Linked DNA regions of Homo sapiens: all the other regions are linked to region 1. The links are contacts of gene promoters, found by promoter capture Hi-C in human tissues and cell types (Jung and others, 2019). All regions are on one chromosome and are shown on one strand. Each heading gives the region's core, a stretch centred on a gene start or on the middle of the fragment in contact. The rest is flanking DNA. Distances are from core to core; before and after follow the strand shown.

Region 1 (3,047 bases), core at 302-2,801:
TAGCTGAGTTTTCTTTCATCAGGGTCATAGACTACAAATCAACGAGTCAGGTACAGAAGACAGAACCTTAGGCATTGCGGAATTTGACCAAAAATGGTAAATAAATTGGTGCAAATTCATCATCACAATTGGAAAACTGAAAGAGCAAGCAGTGGGGCCACTGCAATTATAATAACGGGTGGTGGCTCACGCCTGTAGTCCCACCACTTTGGGAGGTCAAGGGGGTCAGATTGCTTGAACCCAGGCGTTGGAGACCAGCCTGGACAACATGGTGAAACCCTGACTCTACAAAAAAAAAAATCCCCTTCCCCCACCTCCCCAAAAAACTAGCCGGGCATGGTGGTGGGCTCCTGTAGTCCCAGCTACTCTGGAAGCTGCAGTGAGAGGATCACTTGAGCCCGGGAGGTTGAGACCAGCCTGGGCAACATGGCGAAAGCCCGTCTCTACAAAAAAAATTAAAAAAAAAAATAGCCGGCATGGTGATGCGCATCGGTAATTCCAGCTACTCAGGAGGCTGAGATGGGAGGATTGCTTGAACCCGGGAGTTGGAGCAGCGAGCCGAGATCGCGCCATGGCAATCCAGCTCCGGTGCCTTCCAGTCTGGGCAACAGAGAGAGACTCCATCGAAAAGAAAAAGGGGGGAGGGGAGGGGAGGGGAGGGGAGGGGTGGGGAGGGGAGGGGAAAGATTTTACAATTTCCTGTAAGCAATGAATGGCTCTAATGTGATATTGATGAAATACCATCTTTAAGAAAGTGTACAGATTGTAAGTGACACGTGGCTGCTTACGTTACTCCTGAGATGCAAGTAGATCATGACATAATGATAACCAGTCATAATTTGCAGTAATCCCTTACAAAAAGTCCAAATTTGTTTGAAAATACAGAAACTTTTACTAGTCGAAGTTAAACATTAAACATTTTCTAGTCATTGCCTTAACAGGATTTATTAGAGTTACTATAATTTATTGAAAGAATGGCTAGATTTATAAAATGTTTTCTGGTTATGAGCCAATTATGGCAATTATTTTAATTATATATTTATAATAAAAATGCATGACTGTAAGATAAAATTTTAAACCAAATCATAATTTATATTTTAAAATAGCTTTAAAATACTTGCACATAACACATGTCGTGGTTAGTAACTTTCTCCAGCTACATTTAAAAGTATTTCTAAGATTAATTACAACATTTTTTTCTAAAGGTTTATTTTTTCCCCACAGCATAACTCTATAAATTAACGTGAGCCCATTATATCAAAGGTGTTTATGTGTGTTACATATGCATTTAATTTTAATATCCTTATTTAAGGCACGAATATCCCCAAGCAAGCACAGTATGCAATAAGAAGTCCTGTGGAGTCCTGTAAGTACTTTGATGAGGAATGCAGGATTTATGTAAGACCTGAGCGAGCTTGAAGAAAGACTCTACAATTGATAAAACTAAGTCAGACCGAACTGGATCATTTTCAAGTAAAATAGGTAGCAAGGCAAAAAGACCGCCTCAAAGTCGCTGCCCTTGGGGCTCTGCCACTTGCTTTACAGGCTAGGAACGGACAATGCCGGGAACCCGAGAGCGGCCGGCGCGGACGCCGAGGCAACTTTACTTGGGGCACCCACTACTCGCAATCAACTCCCGGCCTCCTCTGCTCTCGCGCCTCTAGGGGCTCAAGCACTGCTCCGGGAGCGCTGAATTTTGAGGAAGAGGGCAGAACTTCAGTAAGGAGACCTGTCTGGGCAACGGTTTCAGGACACGCGGTGGGGAAAGCGACTAGCCTCCGGCGGGGCAGGGCGGGCTGTCCTTACCTGCAGAACCACCGGCCACGATCTGCCGAGAAGCCTCGCGCACTAAGCTGACTTCAGGCTTGGCGGACATCTTCGCCAGGCGGGAGGACAAGGGAGTGGGCTGAGATGCGTCAACGAGCTCGCAGCCTGCACAGCCTACTGATCCAGAGAGCCCCGGCTGGGCTGGTCCTCAAGCGCGTTGGCTCCCTGTGGAGCAGCAATCCGGCGACTGCTGGAAAGCGAGGGTTCGAGGCGCAGATTCGTCGCGCGATCTCCGGCGCGTCGGAACCTGTTCGCAGCGCTCTCGCAGAGGCGCCCTCGGCTCCGAAAATGTCTCTGGAAAGAAGACCCGCGGATGGGTTTGGGTTGGCTCACCGCAGCGGCTCAGGCTTTGTCTCCTAGATTGGCGCCCACGCCCTTCTCTATCAGGAGCCTCCGGTAGTTTGTCAAACTAGACGGTTGCCTCTGATAACTCAAGTGAAGTGACCCAGGCCTGGAGCGCCAAGTACAAAGCGGGGACGACACTTGCACCTCCTGGCAAGCCAGAGCACAGTGAGGTTCAAAAGAAGGGACAAGTGAATAAATTCCTCAGTTAGTTGTCCTATAATTGTGGTCTGTAGCAACTAAGTCAAAGCAAATCTAATTTACACTTACCTTACAATAGAGCTAAGGTAGTACTTTACCAAAAATGGTTTTGATTTAAGGTAAAATCATACCTCATCAACTTGAGTTTTATTTACCTAAGGACCAAAAGAAGAAAAAGCCTGGTTACAAATAGTTTCTTCTATACCCAGGTCAGTGGTTCTTAAAAGTGGTTTTAGTACCCACAGCATCAGCATAATTTGTGAATGTGTTAGGAAGTCAAATTCGTGGGTCCCACCCCGACCTAAACGGAATCAGAATCTCTGGGGATAGGGCCCAGAAACGAGTTCTCTGTTGATTGTCATGAACTTTAAAGGTTGTGAACCACTGACTTAAACAATTGAGGAACATTAAGGAACTTAACAGTATATTCTCTCAATAAAATGTTTGATTATTCTTACTAGCCCCTTAGGATAGTTACCAAAACAAAACTACTAATTTATACTCTTTTAAAACTACAAGTTGCCTGTGTTATGTAGGAGAGATATAAGATTGTGAAATTTTCCAAAAATACCTGCCACACCCCTAACAGACAGGAGATGATAAGAGTAAAAGAGAGAATTGGGAGGCTTTAGAAGCCCTATTGTAATATTTCTTAAAACACATTATTTATTGCTAAA
Region 2 (3,047 bases), core at 386-2,885, 470 kb before region 1:
AAGTGCAGTATTTGGGCGGGAGTGCCCCGTTTTTCCAGATAGTCTGTCACGGCTTCCCTTGGCTAGGAAAGGGAAATCTCCCAACCCCTTGCACTTCCCGGGTGAGGCGACTCCCTGTCCTGCTTCAGTTCACCCTCCGTGGGCTGCACCCACTGTCCAACCAGTCCCAGTGAGATGAACCAGGTGCCTCAGTTGGAAATGCAGAAATCACCCGTCTTCTGAGTTGATCACAATGGGAGTGCAGACTGGAGCTGTTCCTATTCGGCCATCTTGGAACACCCCACCAAGTTCCACCAAAATTTAATACAATACCACCTCAAGCTATCCTCCTACCACAGCCTCCCAAAGTGCGAGGATTACAGGCATGAGTCACTGTGCCCAGACCATGCCAACTTCTTGATGTAAAAATAAAACACATTCTTCCTCCCTTCCTTTCCATCCCCTTCTTCCAACAAATCCCCCACAATCTATTTGTGCACAGTCTTTGGCTGCATTTAAGAAAGGTGTGTGTTCATGTCACAGGAATGCTTGATCCTAGTGTACTCTGCATTTGATCAATGAAAAACTGCAGTATTCTGTTTAGATCTGACATTGATATGGACAAATGTGATGCACTATAGTAGGACAGATGGGCTGCTCAGAGGACTGGAAGCCATGTCACCAGAAGAGTGAATGGGCAGCTGTGGGTATACTCTGAAGAAAGAAAGACCCAAAGGGTCATGTGTCCACATATTTGAAGAAGTATGTAGAGTACAATGATTAAGAGCATGGGCCCTGGGGTCAGATTGCCTAGGGTCAGGCCTTTGAAAGGAGTTAGTGGAGACAGGCAACAGGCTCTCACACTCTTTTTGAAGACTTGTTCAAAATATCTAAAGAAAAGGGATATGCCATGTCACCCTCCTCTTGTGTATTTACTGAGCCTGACACATCATAGGTATGTAATAAATGCCTTAGCTTCCTTTAATAAAACATAATAAACAAAGAACCAAGGTTTCAGAAGCAAATTACAAAGGAGGCAGATACACACACTGGTTAAGCACCTGGTAGCAACCGCAAGGCAAATAATAGCAGCTCATCATTGTCTTGCCCACAGCTGGGTATGGTGGTCATGAAAATGATGTGGTGCATTGGAATCATAGTTGCCTCCTGGTAACTGAACAAGGAGGCAGCTTAAGTGAGAGTGAACTGCCTTTTTTTTAAGAGGAAATTTGCATTTTAGCTATTGTTAGTTCTAATAGGTCCAAGTCAGCTTACAAGTAGAGTCAGCTCTCACTATACAACTTTCATTCCTTCTAATCTTGGCTCTCTTTTGTTGTTTTGTTCATAAACTTTGACAAAAACATTTTCCTCCCAATGTCATGGTATCCTGCTATTTTGTCCCCAGTGAAAATATCTGCTATTGAAGCTTAATTAAAAAATACATTTGTTTTTACTTCACTGCTATCAGAGGAATCTATTACAGTGTTTGTTTTCTCTTCATGCGAGATAATTTAGGGAAATGCTAGCTCCCCACTCCACAGAAGGTCACTAACTAAAATGAGATGCTTCAACTGATAAGCATTCTTTAAGGAATGTGGAGTATTCCTAAGATCCTATCCTTGCAGGGCTCTGGGCTTTGGAATGAAATCAAAGTCTTGTTAAAACCTCTGCATCTAAATGTAGCCATTCAGAAAATAGCCATGAAAATTCCTTTTTTTCCTCTAAGTTGTCTGTTCTTTAAAGTATTGTAAAATGTAGAATAATTTTAAAGGTTTTACCCACTTAGCTCAAATTATAAAATATACATATATATAATGTCAAAATGGATTATGGTTTAGGCATAATAGTTATCTCTTGATTATATCATCTCCTGTATATATTTCACAGATATAATATGTATTGTATATACCTATATATTCAGGTGGTTAGATAATACCACCTAGGAATTAATTATGTATTGAGTATTATATAGAATACAGGAAAGTATTTATATATTTCCTTGGGAACCCAGCAGGATATTTCTGTTGTAGTGTGTTCTCTCTGTTCCTTGACTCAATAAAGGCACTGACCCCAAGGAAAACTAGCAAGCCAGGTTCCCAAAACAAAACTCTAGAGATTGAGAAACCAGAGGGAGCACACTGAGATGCTTCAACATGGAGGTAGAGAGATAATCAAGAAGAAGTCTTTGAACCAAGCTAGTTCAATGAGATTATACCTGTGAACTTCCATACATGAAACTTTCCCATGTCCATTTAGTTCCACTTATGTAATATGTCTGTTCCATATAACCCCCAGTTAAATAATTTAAGGGGAGTAAGTTGCCTTTATATTATGTGCCTAAAACATTCTGGTCAAGCTAACCTCTGCAGCCTCCATTTCTCCTTCTCTACTGGTTCTCCATGCACCAGCAACACTCATTCTTAATCTTCTCTGGGGTCCCTGAGTTTCTTTCTGCTTCAGGATAGTCACATTCCTGTTCTTTCTGCCTGGTTCATTCAACCTCTTCAGGTTGGCGTGGTTTGTCCTCATCCTTCAGCCCAAGCCCAAACATTGTTTCCAAAAAAGACCTTTCTAGCCAGGTTCGGTGGCTCATCCCTGTAATCCCAGCACTTTGGTAGGCCGAGGCAGGAGGATCACTTGAGCCCAGGAGTTGGAGATCAGTCTGGGCAACACAGGGAGATCCTGTCTCCACAAAAAAAAAAAAAAAAAAAAAGAAAGAAAGAAAAAGAAAAAAAAAGAAAACGGACTTCCCTACACCATCTCCCTGCCCCATCATGGGTCTAGATTAGAATACTTGTTTATAAATTCTCACAGCTTGATAGTTATCTTGCATGGCACTTAGCACAATTGGAATGATTCAGTTCCTTGTGCAATGATTTGTTTATTGTCTATTTCCTCTATTAGACTGTAAACGTCATTAAGAGAGGAGCAATGCTGATGCTTCCTAAGAGGGTGCCCAACATACAGTAGATGCACCATGAATACTTTTGGAATGAATGAATAGAATAGACCCACTGAGAACCTAAAGCTACTTGCACCTCATTTCCATCCACTTGGGGAGTGTCTGA
Region 3 (3,047 bases), core at 357-2,856, 410 kb before region 1:
GTATTAGCCTATCTCTCTAGCACAAAGCAGAGTTTAAGAATACGTCATTATCTTGAATTAATCCAACATACTTATTCAGACAATTTAGCAAAAATAAACCTATTACCTAAATTATATAGACCCTGGTAGCTATGTGGATACATGAGCTTACAACTACCATAAGAAGGTGAACATCATGTCATAATTATCTTCCTGTAGTTTAAAATGCCTGCCTTAAAGCACGAAAAGCAAAGAGATTAGGTCTTGGAATTTCAAAAAGTAAGAGTTGTTTTATAAAACAAGCAAAACATGCTAACTAAATTATATCTAATGCAGACTCCCAAACACAAATGAAAAATGAAAACACTGATTCTGAGATAGTATTTAATTATTATCACAGAGGCCCAGATCTGAGTTTTTCTCTGGAAGGATTTAGGACTGTAAGAACATTCATTTGTCTATTTGCTCACTCATTAAATCATTCTCTTTTATTTGTGTAACAAATATTTACTGAGTGCTGCTAAGTTGGACTCAGTTAGTGCTGGAGATATTAGGGTGAATCACATAAACTTTTTCCCTGTCCTTGTGGGGTTTCCAGTCCACTGGGAGGGAGAGGATATTACACTATTACAAAGGGGATGAATGTTTTCAAAGAGAACTCTGCCTCTTAATCACTCTGCCACTGGAGGGAAGGGAAACAGGAAGAACTTTGAACTGTTTGTGCTGGGTAAGAAATGCTTACTGGACCACCTCAGGTATTTGGGTGGTGGTGGTAGGGGGTCTGGAAATAGCTTTTTACTGTTGTAGAGGGGTCCTTGCTTGATTTGATGTGGGTGCTCATGTAGGAATCAGACACAGTAGAGCACACCGGGAAGACCAGAAAAGGCAGCCTATCAAGTCCATTATTAGAAATTGTTTAGCTTCCCAGGCAGGTGAGGTGGCTCATGCCTGTAATCCGAGCACTTTAGGAGGCCGAAGCAGGTGGATCACAAGGTCAGGAGTTCAAGACCAACTTGGCCAAGATGGTGAAAACCTGTCTCTACTAAAAATACAAAAATTAGCCAGGTGCAATGGTGGGCACCTGTAATCTCAGTTACTTGGGAGGGTGAGGCAGGAGAATTGCTTGAACCCAGAAGGTGGAGGTTGCAGTGAGTGGAGATCGTGCCACTGCACTCTAGCCTGGGTGACAGAGCAAGACTCTGTGAAAGAAAGAAAAAGAAAGAAAGAAAGAAAGAAAGAAAGAAAGAAAGAAAGAAAGAAGGAAGGAAGGAAGGAAGGAAGGAAGGAAGGAAAGAAGGAAAGAAGGAAAGAAGGAAAGAAGGAAAGAAAGAAAGAAAGAAAGAAAGAAAGAAAGAAAGAAAGAAAGAAAGAGAAAGAAAGAAACTGTTAGCTTCCCAGGACAAAACTCATCTCAAGGGAGGAGCCAGCTAGGAACACTCACTCGGTCCAATAACAATGCCACCTCTCTGAGTCACAGCCTTGCCTTTCATTGAGATGGCTCCCCTGGCCCAGCCCCCAGTAGAAACTGTGTCTGTGTCCTGGGGAAGGCAGCCATGAATTACAAACAGAAACCATGGAGAAAAAAAGCCAGCCCAAGGAGAGTGGTTTTCTTATATAGGCTCCATGAGATTGAAGCACAAGCTGCCACGCGTGAAGAACGAGGTAATAGTAACAGAAGGGATTCCAGATTTATGCACACTCACCCACACTCCAAAAAAAAAAAAAAAGCCAAAACAAAACAAAACAAAACAAAACAAAAAACAAAAAAAACCATGCATGCACACACACACACTCCAAAAAAAAAAAAAAAACCACGCATGCCCACATACACACACACATCCCTTCTCTGGCTTAGGACCCAGCATGCTTTGAAGTGTTTGGAGCTCCAGCAGTTCAGCCAGTGGCCCAATGTCAAGTACTCCATCAGCAGGGGAGGCAGCAACTGCAGCTTCCTTAGTAATGGGAGGCGGTGCCCCTAAACTGTTGTTCTGATGGCAGGTCCCCAGCAGGGTCTGTGAAGAGACACCTCATATGGCTACATGTATTGCAGGAATCCTTCTGCACAGAGGATCTGAACTGGGAGGAAGAACATGGTGAGCCACAAGATTACGGGCCATCTTGCTTTTAAGAACAGATAAGCATTTTGAGCAGACTTCCAAAACTAGTTGAGAGGCCAGGAGGGCCTATGTCCCTTCTCTTTAAATCTCAATGGGCTCTGTGATTTCCTTGACCAATAGAATATGGGAGAAGTGATGCTGGGCCAGTCACTTGGCCCAGGCCTTATGCAGCTAGAAGCTTCCAGCTCCATATTTTGAAATGCTTGTTCTTAGTGTCCTGCATTGCTAAGAAGTCTGACTAATCTGAGGCTGCCATGCTCTAAGAAGCCCAGGCTGCATGAAGAGGCCCTGGAGGATGAGACTTCATGTGGAGAGAGCGAAATGCCAAGGAGCATTGCAGGACCAGAAACGCAAGTAAAGAGACCACATTGGAAGTGATCATCTAGCTCCAGCTGCCTCAGCTGACTACATGGAGCAGAGGGGAAGCACCCAGCCAAGCCCTTCCCAAATTCCTAACCCTCAAAAGGGTAAACAAAATAACATGGTTGTTTTAAGCCCCAGTGTTTTGGGGTAGTTTGCTACACAGCAGAGGATGACTGGAAACAGAGGCCTGAAGGAAAAGTACAAGTACCAATGATTTAGAAGATGGTTGCCAGAGAGAGAAGCCAACATTGTATATCATGGCTTACTGTTGTGCTTCCAGTATGCTGTGGCCTGGGAAAACTCAGATTATACTAGAAAAGATGAAAAGTTAAAGACAGGAAGAAGGTTCCACACTGTACTGTCTTGGCATTCCTCTGTGTATCCTTTTCCTCTGCTACCCTCAACGTGTATGTTTCAAAGGATCTTGAAACATCTTGAAACAAAGGATCAAAGCCGTTGAACTTTCCCTTCTCTCACTTGCATATTATTTACTCTCTTCACCTTCTCGCCCCTCCATACAGATGGCAATACATGCAGGTCTAAGCCTCTAGTTTCAAGGTATATCCTGAGTACAGGTTCCTACCTATC

Evidence for each region. The method cuts DNA at HindIII sites, captures the fragments that hold promoters and counts their contacts. A contact is called where the count stands out against the background at its distance.
Region 2: a contact is called between a fragment that was not itself captured here and the fragment with the promoter of SLC25A21-AS1 in region 1, in 1 of the 25 tissues and cell types used here (heart right ventricle).
Region 3: a contact is called between a fragment that was not itself captured here and the fragment with the promoter of SLC25A21-AS1 in region 1, in 1 of the 25 tissues and cell types used here (dorsolateral prefrontal cortex).

Annotation. Positions count from the first base shown.
Region 1 is chr14:37,170,475-37,173,521 of GRCh38, forward strand. SLC25A21-AS1 (SLC25A21 antisense RNA 1) reads left to right here and starts at 1,552. Exons shown (of 1, transcript NR_033240.1): 1 at 1,552-3,047. SLC25A21 (solute carrier family 25 member 21) reads right to left here and starts at 2,132. Exons shown (of 10, transcript NM_030631.4): 1 at 1,807-2,132. The coding sequence starts at 1,876. RefSeq lists enhancers at 1,247-1,826, 1,827-2,405. The HindIII fragment of the contact is 15,552 bases long and covers 1-3,047 here.
Region 2 is chr14:36,699,805-36,702,851 of GRCh38, forward strand. The region is part of intron 7 of SLC25A21 (solute carrier family 25 member 21); the gene reads right to left. Among named protein-coding and RNA genes, the nearest start is that of PAX9, 39 kb to the left of the region's middle. The HindIII fragment of the contact is 5,988 bases long and covers 1-3,047 here.
Region 3 is chr14:36,762,844-36,765,890 of GRCh38, forward strand. The region is part of intron 3 of SLC25A21 (solute carrier family 25 member 21); the gene reads right to left. Among named protein-coding and RNA genes, the nearest start is that of PAX9, 100 kb to the left of the region's middle. The HindIII fragment of the contact is 3,313 bases long and covers 1-3,047 here.